4 separate regions of the Homo sapiens genome follow, and regions 1, 2 and 3 are each linked to region 4. The links are contacts of gene promoters, found by promoter capture Hi-C in blood cells and fetal thymus (Javierre and others, 2016). All regions are on one chromosome and are shown on one strand. Each heading gives the region's core, a stretch centred on a gene start or on the middle of the fragment in contact. The rest is flanking DNA. Distances are from core to core; before and after follow the strand shown.

Region 1 (2,798 bases), core at 84-2,583, about 13 Mb after region 4:
CGGAGTCTCACTCTGTCGTCTGGGCTGGAGTGCAGTGGCGCGATCTCAGCTCACTGCAACCTCCGTTTCCTGGGTTCAAGCGATTCTTCTGCTTCAGCCTCCTGTGTAGCTGGGATTACAGGCATGCGCCACCACGCCCGGCTAATTTTTGTATTTTTAGTAGTGATGGGGTTTCACCATATTGGTCAGAATGGTCTTGAACTCCTGACCTTGTGATCCGCCCAAACTCGGCCTCCCAAAGTGCTGGGATTACAGGCGCGAGCCACCGCACCCGGCCGGTTTTACCATTTTTAGAGCCAAGCTTTACTATATATTTGATATTTGTTCTTTCTTCAACCTTAGCTGAATTCACATTCCTCTGATAGAAGGTGTTTTCAAACTGATGCCGTTCTTAGTGCCTCAAACTAGATCCTGTTCATACTTGTTAGAACAAGTTATTACAAATTCACTTTGGTGTAAAAAATTGAAATCCATACATAATTTTTTTTTTTTTTTTTGACAGAGTCTCACTAACGCTAGGTTGGAGTGCAGTGGCATGATCTCGGCTCATTGCAACCTCCGCCTCCTGGGTTCAAGCAATTCTCCTGCCTCAGCCTCTTGAGTAGCTGGGATTACAGGTGCCCACAATCACGCCCAGCTAATTTTTGTATTTTTAGTAGAGATGGGTTTTCACTCTGTTGGCCAGGCTGCTCTCGAACTCCTGACCTCAGGTGATCCACCTGCCTGGGCCTCACAAAGTGCTGTGATTACAGGCTTAAGCCACCACCCCTGGCCAATTTTTTCATAATATACATTTTTTTCTCATTTTTCATGAAACTTTTGAAGACCCCTCATATTCTAGATATTCCTTCTCAGATATGTGGTTTTCAAATACTTTCTCCCATTGAGTCTTTTTCCTTTTCACTCTGTCCATTATGTCCTTTTTTACACAGGAATTTTGAATTTAAATGGAGTCTAATATATCTGTTTTATAAGTCTTTGATGCATTTGAGTTCATTTTAGCAACTTAATTCTTTTGCGTGTGGATATCCAGTTTTTTTTTTTTAACATCAAAAGAATAATGTTTTTGCCTAGCATTAAGGCCCTTGGTAGAGGCTTGTCAGTTACAATTTTGGAGCAGCAGATTAAGTCCACACTCCCAACCATTTTCCTTATCAGGCTCTCAAACTCTGGGCCACAATATGTAAGACCCAATCACCCCAGGATCAGGAATCAGATATCTAGGGACAGCTTCTGTGCCCAGGAGCTTGTAAAATTATTCCATTGGTCAATGCACAGGGGTCCCTGAAAACCTAGCTAACCCCAATTTACATGGCACACACAAGCTGCCCCCTAAGCTCCAGCTTGCTGTTATCTTGGGTTCCCTCATAACTCTTGCAGCCCTGCCTATGTCCTTAGGTTTCAAGCTGTAAGTAGCAAAGTGGTCTACATTTTATGATTATCATTGTGACATGTCCTGACATCAGAAAAACACCTTTGTATGTTATTACTATACAACCAGCAGAATATTATGAGTGCAGCAAATGTTAGAAAGTATTCAGCCTAACTTCACTGAGCAAGAGTAAGTTCATCCTGGAGAAAGTCCTTAGGAATGCAGGCAATATACTTTTTTTCCTTTGTCAACAGGTCAAAAACAGCAAAGCTCTATCGAGCTTGTCTTACTCACCCTATTTTTTTGTTGCTCTGTTTTGTTTTAGGCTTTTAGCCTGAAGCCATGGTTTTGTTTCTGTCTCTAGTGGTAGGTGGACAAGAGGAATGAGATGAGAAAGGAGCTTTACTGGCCCAGCTAGAAACAAACTAAGAACCCATGACTGTATTCTTTCCCTTGGATGACCCTGTGTTAGCTTGTTGAGGGAGATCTCAGCCTGAAATTGAATCTCACATCCAAACATCCACGCAAGGGAGATTTGTTGTAATTGTCAGATATATGGTAAATTTTTGTGAATGATGTTGCACTTTCTGACCCTGCCTGGGGCCTTTCCAGAGTTAAGTTGCTGAAAGTGTGCATTACAGAAGACTCCTGCTATTAGCTGTCATGGTGCCACAATGTGCATCACCTTAGTCACCTTAAATTACTTAGAGAGTGATAAGGTCTGGACTTCTGGTTAAATGTTTTTAAAAAATGGGGGGTGGGGGGGTGGTGCATAGATTGCTGTGTTCTCTACCTTTATCTGGAATATTCAGTCATTTGTTCCCTTTGGGGGCCTCATTCCCAGTCCCCTGACTGGTTTGGGTGTGGACATCACCCAGCTTTGGACAGAGAACACACGCCAACTTCAGCTGGCAGCTTGTAGAGATTTCCTTTTTTCAGAGGTATTATTAGTTGTCTGATACTGATAATGTTGATGATAAATTTTCTACCTTCCAAGCTTCCCAACCCAGTCAATTTCCACCTAAGCATTGCTGTTTTCTTCTGATGATAAAGGTCATATTGTTTAAGCTACATTTACTCTTGGGGTTCTCTTCACTGTGTGCTGCGGGTTGAGAACAAAATTAGGCTTTGCCAGAATGAAAAAGTGAATGGTTTTTGGGGCCTTCAACTTTTTGTGCTCTTGAAGAAATAAGAAGACAAAATAGCTTTCAATCCACATCAGGCCCAATTTGCATTGCTTCGGGAGTTCCTGGGAAAGTGACGGACTTCTATCCAAAATCGCGCCGTGAATTTGATTATTGGTAGTTCTACAGTCAGCTTGAGGGTTGTTGGTTTGACAGTTGTCAGAGCATGTTGCAGCTGTATGAGGTGGGTATCTGTACATATGGATGTCCCATATTCTCCAGCATTGCATAGGAATAGCTGG
Region 2 (2,954 bases), core at 381-2,880, about 14 Mb after region 4:
GGCCTGAAGAGAGAGTGCAGTCAACATGAGATTGCTAGGCATTCTGGTTTCTGAAAGTTGGGTGATCAGATACTTTATTGTGAAACATGTTTTACAAACTTTCTTGATGTGTAAGTGACATGCCATAGTTTACATCCATTTATGGTGTATAATTTGAAGAGTTTGTCATACAAGCCTGTGAAACCATAATCATGATCATGAACATATTCATGATTCACCTCTTGCTGTTTTACAATCTCTGCGTGTACTTTCCAGGCCTTCAGGAGTCCTGTCATTTACTTTCCCTACAGGAGAATAGTTTGTGTTTTCTAGGATTTTATGTGAATTGAAACGTAAAATACTTACTCCATTTTTCCTGATGATGCACAATTTTTTTTTTTTTTTTGAGATGGAGTCTCAGTCTGTCACCAGGCTGGAGTGCAGTGGCATGATCTTGGCTCACTCCAACCTCCTCCTGGGTTCCAGCGATTCTCCTGCCTCAGCCTCCTGAGAAGCTAGGACTACAGGCATGCACTACCACGCCCAACTAATTTTTGTATTTTTAGTAGAGATGTGGTTTTACCATGTTTGCCAGGATGGTCTTGATCTCTTGACCTCGTGATCCGCCCGCCTCAGCCTCCCGAAGTGCTGGGATTACAGGCGTAAGCCACCACACCAGCTGATGCACAATTACTTTTAAGATTTATCAATATTGCTTATGTGAATAGTTCATTTGTATTGCTGAGAAATAGTCTGTGGATATGTCACAATTTGGATAAACAGTTGGATGCTTTCCAGTTTTGGGCTGTTGCAAATAATGCTACTATGAACATAGGCATATAACTCTTAATATGCAGAAATGCTTTATTTCTCCTGTGTCAGTAGTACAGTGTACGTGAATGCGTCACTTTTAAAGACAAGGCCAGACTATAACCTAACTGTACCATTTGCATTCTCATCAACAGTATGTGAACCTTCTTATTTCTCTACATTCTTGCCATACTTGGTATGGTTAGTCTTTTTAATTTTAGTTGTTTTAATAGCTGTATAATAGCATCTGTCTGTGATTTTATTGCATTTTTCTGGTATTTTATGGTATTGAACATTTGAACATCTTGTATCTAGTTGCCACCTGTATATCCTCTTTGGAAGAATGTTTATTAATGTCTTTTGCTTATTTTTAAATGGATGTTGGTGATACTTTTTCATTAATAAATAGACGTATAACAAAGACTTATGTTGAAACTTTACTCATTCTTCAGTAATGTGATGCACTTATTTGCTAAATGATAAAATTGTTTTCAAATACTGGGAAAATAATTTCTCAGTTTTTTGGTCTATTCACAGTGTAACAACTACAGACACTATATACCTGAAACACTACCTTCATTGACAAATTCTCCATCACTTTCTTAGGTCTAACCATTCAATGAAACAAATAAGCCCTGGTTTTTAATATTTGCCAATTTCCCTGGTAAAATACTCCCACCATGGCCAATTACAAGGTGTCAAAATAATGTCACTGAACATGAATTGAGAAGAAGTGGGTAGCGTCACACCACTGTATTCTACTTTCACCATGCCAATACAGTAGCCGCAGATAACCTGAAGATCATGTATGTAGGAACCATACAGCCTGTGGTGTGGCAAGACTGATGCCATCTTGAAGTGAAGCTGTCATGGTCACCTATGTTCTGAAGCAGTAGCATAGATATCATCAAAATGCTTCTCTCCCCCAATGGTCATGAGTCTTGGCAAGAAAGTCTGAAGACGTGAAGAGCTGCACGTTTTACCCTAAAAACTCCAGGCCGGGCGTGTTGGCTCTTGCCTGTAATCCCAACACTTTGGGAGGCCAAGGTGGGCAGATCACGAGGTCAGGAGATGGAGACCATCCTGGCTAACATGGTGAAACCCCATCTCTACTAAAAATAGAAAAATTAGCCGGTTGTGGTGGCTTACGGGTGCCTGTAATCCCAGCTACTTGGGAGGCTGAGGCAGGAGAATCACTTGAATCCAGGAGGTGGAGGTTGCAGTGAGCCGAGATCACGCCATTGCACTCCAGCCTGGCAACAGAGCAAGACTCCGTCTAGAAAAACAAACAAACAAAAAACTCCAGCCTTGTTGACCACTACAAAAAGGGTCCTATAAAGGATGTAAAGGAAACTGCCTTCTGGAGGGCAGATACAGGGATCCATTGTCTCACAGCTGCACAAGACATCACTTCTGTTCATGAGTCCCTATGAAATGTTTCTGAAAACAATTTGGCCTCTTCCTCCTTCTTTGGCCTTTCAGCTTCGTTGGCCTTTGGGATAGATTTTCATACACCTGCTCACTATAGAACAATGTATATATAAGAGTAAAACAGTAAAATGATTAAGAATTGACTTTTGAGTATTTATTACTTGTGTTTTTAAAAGTGGCTTAAGTGAAATCTAGTTGTCTTAAATTCTGCATATTTAAAGTATACAATTTCTATTTTAATATATACTCGAAACCATAAGTTTCCACCTGCCCTTTTTAGTCCATCCCTCTTAACAAGTAATGGGTACAAAAACTTATTTTTCCTCTTCTAATGGATATTTTCAAGTATATACACAAATGGAAAGGACTGTGTTCAGATGCACTATGAAACCTTTCTAAATCTTCCATTATTACTTATCATTTAGTAGCCATTCTTGTTTCAACTCTTTTCACACATAATTATTTTACTTACAATTCCCACATCTTGTCATTCAATGCTGCACCTCTTCAGAATGCATTTTCAAGCATAAGAGCTCTTTCATAATTCCTATAACTTTATCAATCATTATTTAAGGCATCATAAAATATATCATCAGTGCTCAGTCACCTCGAATTGTCTCCAAAATTGATTTTTAAGACAAATTCATTGCAATCAGATCCAAAATGAATCTATATGGCTATTAGTAGTTTCATCTGGTGAGTCTATAATAATACACAGCTACCACTTTTTATTA
Region 3 (2,784 bases), core at 240-2,739, about 13 Mb after region 4:
GACCAAGAACCTATTAATATATGTAAATCTAATGTTGAAAGAGTTCAGATGGAAATCTGCGAGGATTTCCTGCTGGGAACTACATTAAAAACATTTATGTCCAGGCGTGGTGGCTCACGCCTGTAATCCCAGCACTTTGGGAGGCAGAGGTGGGTGGATCACCTGAGGTCAGGAGTTTGAGACCAGCCGGGCCAACATGGTGAAGCCCCATCTCTACTAAAAATACAAAAATTAGCTGGGCATGGTGGCAGGTGCCTGTAATCCCAGCTATTCAGGGGACTGAGGCAGGGAGCATCACTTGAACCTGGGAGGCGGAGGTTGCAGTGAACTGAGATTGTTCCATTGCACTCCAGCCTGGGTGACAGGGCGAGACTCTGTCTCAAAAAGAAAAAAATTATAATTGTGGCAAATTACAGGTAACTTAAAATCTACCATCTTAACCCATATTTAACTGTACTGTTCAGTAGTGTTAAGTCATTCGCATTGTTGTCAATTAATATCCAGAAGTTTTTTCAACTTAATGAAACTAAAACATTATACCCTTTAAACCAGGGGTCCACAACCCCCAGGCTGCAAACTGGTACCAGTCTGTGGCCTGTTAGGAACCGGGCCAGCATCACTACCTGAGCTTCACCTCCTGTCAGATGAGCAGCATTAGATTCTCATAGCAGCCTGAGCCCTATTGTGAACTGTGCCTGTGAGGGATCTAGGTTGTGTGCTCCTTATGAGAATCTAACTAATACCTGATGATCTGAGGTGGGACAGTTTTATTCTGAAACTGTCTGCCCCCTCCTCTGTCCCTGATGCGTGGAAAAATTGGCTTCCATGAAACCAGTCCCTGGTGCCAAAGAGGTTGGGGACCGCTGCTTTAAACTACTCCTCTTCCTCATTCCCTACGCCAACCAGCCCCTGACAATACTACTGTATGAATTTTACTATAAATATCTCATATGAGGAAACTTAAGTTTTAGTCTTTTGTGACTTATTTTGAGGCTTATTTCCCTAAATGTCTTCAAGGTTTATCCATGTTGTAGCATAGCTTATGATTTTCATCTTTTTTAAAGGCCGAATAAAATCCCATTGTAGTCATGTGTCGCCTAACAAGAGGACTGTGTTCTGAGTAATCATCTTAAGGTGATTTTGTCATTGTGTGAACAAAGAGTGTACTTACACAAACCTGAAGGGCACAGCCTATTACGCACCTAGGCTATATGATATGGTCCATTGCGCCTCAGATATAAACCTTAACAGCATGTTACAGTATTGAATATTGTAGGTAATTGAAACACAATGATAAGTAAATGTGTATCTAAACATATCTAAGTTTCCAAAAGGTACTGTAAAAATGTATGAAAAATGGTAAAAACTTTATAGGGCACTAACATGAACGAAGCTTGCGGGACCCCTCTGGTTGAGTCAGGGAGTGAGTTGTGAGTGAATGTGAAGCTCTAGGACATTACTGTACCCTATTGTAGATGTTATAAACATTGTACACTTAGGCTACTCTAAATTAATTTTTTCTTTAGTAATAAATTAACCTTAGTCTACTGTAACGTTTTTACTTCATGAACTTTTAAAATTTTAAAAAGCTTTTTGACTCTTTTGTAATAATAGCTTAAAACACAAACACATTATACAGCCTGTATAGAAGTACTCCTTTATATTCTATAAACTTTTTCTATTTAATTTTTTAACTTCGTAAAAAATAAGTTAAAAATGAAGACACAGACACACACATTAGTCAAGGCCTACAGAGGGTGAGGATCATTAATATCACTGTCTTTTGCCTCCACATCTTGTCCCACTAGAAGGTTTTCAGGCTCAATAACAGGGAGTTGTTATCTCCTATGATAACAATATTCTGGAATATTTTCTGAAGCCTTGCCTCACACTTTTTTTTTTTTTTTTTTTTTGAGACAGAGTCTCGCACTGTTGCCAGGCTGGAGTGCAGTGGCACAATCTCGGCTCACTGCAACCTCTGCCTCCTGGGTTCAAGTGATTCTCCTGCTTCAGCCTCCCGAGTAGCTAGGATTACAGGTGCCTGCCACCACGCTCAGCTAATTTTTTGTATTTTTAGTAGAGATGGCGTTTCACTATGTTGGCCAGGCTGGTCTCGAACTCCTGACCTCATGATTCGCCCGCCTCAGCCTCCCAGAGTGCTGGGATGACAGGCATGAGCCACCGCGCCTGGCTTTATTTTTTTTTTGAGACAGAGTCTTGCACTGTTGCCTGGGCTGGTGTGTAGTGGTGTGATCTTGGCTCACTGCAACCTCCGCCTCCCGGGTACAAGCGATTCTCCTGCCTCAGCCTCCCGAGTAGCTAGGATTACAGGTGCCCACCAGCATGCCCGGCTAATTTTTTGTATTTTTAGTAGAGATGGGGTTTCACTATGTTGGCCAGGCTGGTCTCCAACTCCTGACCTCATGATCCGCCCATCTCGGCCTCCCAAAGTGCTGGGATTACAGGCATGAGCCACAGCGCCCGGCCTGTGCTCTTTATATGACTGGCAGACCAGTAGGTTTGTTTACACCAGTGTCACCACACACACTTGAGTAATGGGATTGAGTTACAGTGGCTGTGGTGGCACTAGGTGATAGGAGTTGTTTAGCTCTGTTATAATACGGGATTACTGTTATACATGTGGTCCATGGTAGACAGAAATGTGTGGCATATGACTGTGGTATATGTATATGCCACTTTTCCTGTATTCTTTCTTCAGTGTACATTTGGGTTGCTTCCACTCTTCTGTTCTTGTTAATGCCACTATGAGCATGAATATACAAA
Region 4 (2,700 bases), core at 68-2,567:
CAGTCTTTGGAACTATGTAATGGATAGAGTCTAGAAGAGTTTTTACATGTATGCTAGGAAAAGCCTACATTGCCATGAATGGACTGATAAGGACAATTCTGGTTAGCGCTCAGAAATAGAGAATAAGAACTGTAGAGAAAACATCAATCTTGTTAGAGCATACCTAGGTAGTCATGATCAGAATGTTGGTAGAAATATGGACAGTAAAGGCCATTCTGAAGACCTCAGTCAGAAATGTTGAACATGTTATTGGAAGAGAAGAGAGCTTCTTGTTATAAAGGGACAAAGAATTTGGCTGAATTATATTCAGGTGCTAGTGTTTTATGGAAGGTAGAATTTGTGAATGATATAATTGTTTATCTGAATTAATTTCTAATCAAAGTGTTGAAGTTGCTTGAATCATCTTGACTACCCGTAGTGAAAGGCACGAAGTGAGGAATGACTGAAATAATTATTAATTAAAAGGGAAACAGAACTAAAATTTTTAAAAGTTTACAGCCTATCTACTTTGGAAAAAAAAAAAAACAGGAAACCTGAAGAATACAAGGGTATGGTTAAGCAACTAACTAATTCATGAATTTAGTATGGATTGGCCATGTCAACTGAAGCCAGGACCTATTGTCCAAGACAATGGAAGAATGACCCCAAAGGCATTTCACAGATTATGGCAGCTTCTCCTCCCATCACAGGCCCAGAGTGCAAGGACCTGGGGGACAGAAAGGGCCTTTGATGCCAGATATACCCTAATATATTAGGCACAGTTTCCTGCCTACTACGATTGAGCGTGTCAATAAATTTTTATCTCTTGGGAGGGCAGAACAGAGCAAGGATACAGCTGTAACTGGTTTAGAAATAGCAGTCACTCAATTTTCAGAGAAGTGTTCCTCATACTGTGGTTGGCACAGTCACTTTATCTAAAGAAAACCATGAAAAGTATTCTTTTTTAGTTTAGAAAAATTGATATAGAACATGAGACTCCATTTTTTTAAAATAAAAATATAGGTTGATAGGCCAGAATTCACAGGTCCACCTGCCTGAGCCAAAATTCTCACGCCTCCACAGAGCAAATGGACTCCATTTCCCAAGATACCAGCGAAACGCCTGCGGGAGTCTAATTGCCCGGTCGATGCGCAGGAAATTTGGCTCCCGCAGGCGTTTCGCGAGTAGCTTGGGAGGCGTGGGAATTTTGGCCCAGGCAGGAGGACCTGTGAATTCTGGGAAGTGGAGTCCATTTGCTCTGTGGAGTCGTGGGAACTTTGGCTCAGGCAGGCGGATTCGGGGGATTCTGGGAAGTGTAGTCCAGACGCCTGTGGCATCATCGACACTTCCGGTCTCCGAGCAGGACACTGCTACTTAACAAGGTGGTTTGAGCCAAGTATGTGTCTTGCGGGTCTTTGCGAAAGTGAACCAGTTATTAGGGGCGCCTAACGACCTGGGGGGTCAACTAAGGGGGTAAGAAGCCCTGGAGAAGACCTGAGGTTTGGAGATGCGAGGGGTGGGAGGGAAGTTTCGTTGCCGTCGATGGAGCCTTCTGGCGTTGGGGGCTGTACTCAGGTCCACCGGAGGAGTCGTCGGGGGTTCGGGGGGGGCGGGGAAGAACTCTGTCTAGTCTTGTGTGCCTGTTTAGAGGGTTTTCCAGGTGTTTGACCTCGTTCAGTCCGCCTCCCTCCACTCTTAAGTGTGCGACCTCTTTCTCGCGATATAACGTGGGGTGTTACTTAATCTCCCTGTACCTCCCATTGCCGTTTTTTAAATGAGGATTTCAGGACCATCCTGATAGAATTGTTTTAGGAGTTGAAAGTTGTGGTATAAAACAAAGACTTAACAGCTCCTGTCACTTGGTGTCCTGTTAATTTCCCGCGAAGTGGTCAGGTGCCCGGGTGGGGTCAGAGCTCCAGCTGCTCCGGCCCTTCTCTTGGAGCCCGGCAGGGCTCTGGATGATCCCGGACGCCTCTGACCTCTTTTTAGGAAGGCGTGGGTTGCATCCACGTTTCACGAAGGGAGAGGAGCATTTAACTTGTATCCGGGACGGCGACGCAGAGTGTTTGACAGCTTTCTCCTTCCCCAGCCTGACTTTTCTAAAAGAGCTGCAGGGAGGGACTTGGCTACTGAGGACAAAGCTGTCTACACGAGTGGTCTTTGGCTTTTCTCTTTTTAAAAAAAAGTTATTTATTTTGTTAGTCTGTTTTTATTATTGTTATTATTTGAGAATGAGGTTTGCTCTGTCTCCCAGGCTGGAGTGCAGCAGTGGCGCGATCTTGGCTCACTGCAACCTCCGCCTCCTGGGTTCAAGCGATTCTCTGTCCTCAGCTCCGGAGTAGCTGGGATTACAGGCATGCGTCACCATGCCCGGCTAATTTTTGTATTTTTAGTAGAGACGGGGTTTCACCATGTTGGCCAGGCTGGTCTCGAACCTGTGGTCCTAAGTGATCCGCCTGCCTCGGCCTCCCAAAGTGCTGGAATTACAGGTGTGAGCCACCGCGCCGGGCCGGTTTTTTCTTTTACAGAGATGTTCACCTCAACCAAGAGTGTATAGGATGTGTCCTTGGGCATGGGTGTTGATAATAATTAAACCTTAATTGGTAACTTAATTCTAAGGGCTTTATGGAAATAAATACATTTACGCCACACCATGGCTCTGTGGAAAGGTATTGCTCTTTTTCTTTTTTTTTTTTTTTTTTTTTTCCTGAGACGGAGTCT

What was found. Contacts are between HindIII fragments. The CHiCAGO score rates a contact against its expected background, and 5 or more counts as called.
Region 1: a fragment that was not itself captured here is called in contact with the fragment with the promoter of ZNF155 in region 4 in 1 of 17 cell types (non-activated CD4 T cells); the score reaches 10.8 in non-activated CD4 T cells.
Region 2: a contact is called between a fragment that was not itself captured here and the fragment with the promoter of ZNF155 in region 4, in 1 of 17 cell types (non-activated CD4 T cells). The highest score is 7.4, in non-activated CD4 T cells.
Region 3: a fragment that was not itself captured here is called in contact with the fragment with the promoter of ZNF155 in region 4 in 1 of 17 cell types (non-activated CD4 T cells); the score reaches 7.8 in non-activated CD4 T cells.

What each region holds. Positions count from the first base shown.
Region 1 is chr19:57,425,439-57,428,236 of GRCh38, forward strand. No RefSeq gene overlaps it. Among named protein-coding and RNA genes, the nearest start is that of ZNF749, 8.5 kb to the right of the region's middle. The HindIII fragment of the contact is 2,068 bases long and covers 300-2,367 here.
Region 2 is chr19:57,592,679-57,595,632 of GRCh38, forward strand. It overlaps ZIK1 (zinc finger protein interacting with K protein 1), which reads left to right. Exons shown (of 4, transcript NM_001010879.4): 4 at 1-1,212. Among named protein-coding and RNA genes, the nearest start is that of ZNF530, 5.7 kb to the right of the region's middle. The HindIII fragment of the contact is 4,262 bases long and covers 1-2,954 here.
Region 3 is chr19:57,445,549-57,448,332 of GRCh38, forward strand. ZNF749 (zinc finger protein 749) reads left to right here. Exons shown (of 3, transcript NM_001023561.4): 3 at 1-1,553. Among named protein-coding and RNA genes, the nearest start is that of VN1R1, 10 kb to the right of the region's middle. The HindIII fragment of the contact is 196 bases long and covers 1,392-1,587 here.
Region 4 is chr19:43,982,871-43,985,570 of GRCh38, forward strand. ZNF155 (zinc finger protein 155) reads left to right here and starts at 1,318. Exons shown (of 5, transcript NM_198089.3): 1 at 1,318-1,375. RefSeq lists a silencer at 1,015-1,214. The HindIII fragment of the contact is 8,717 bases long and covers 1-2,700 here.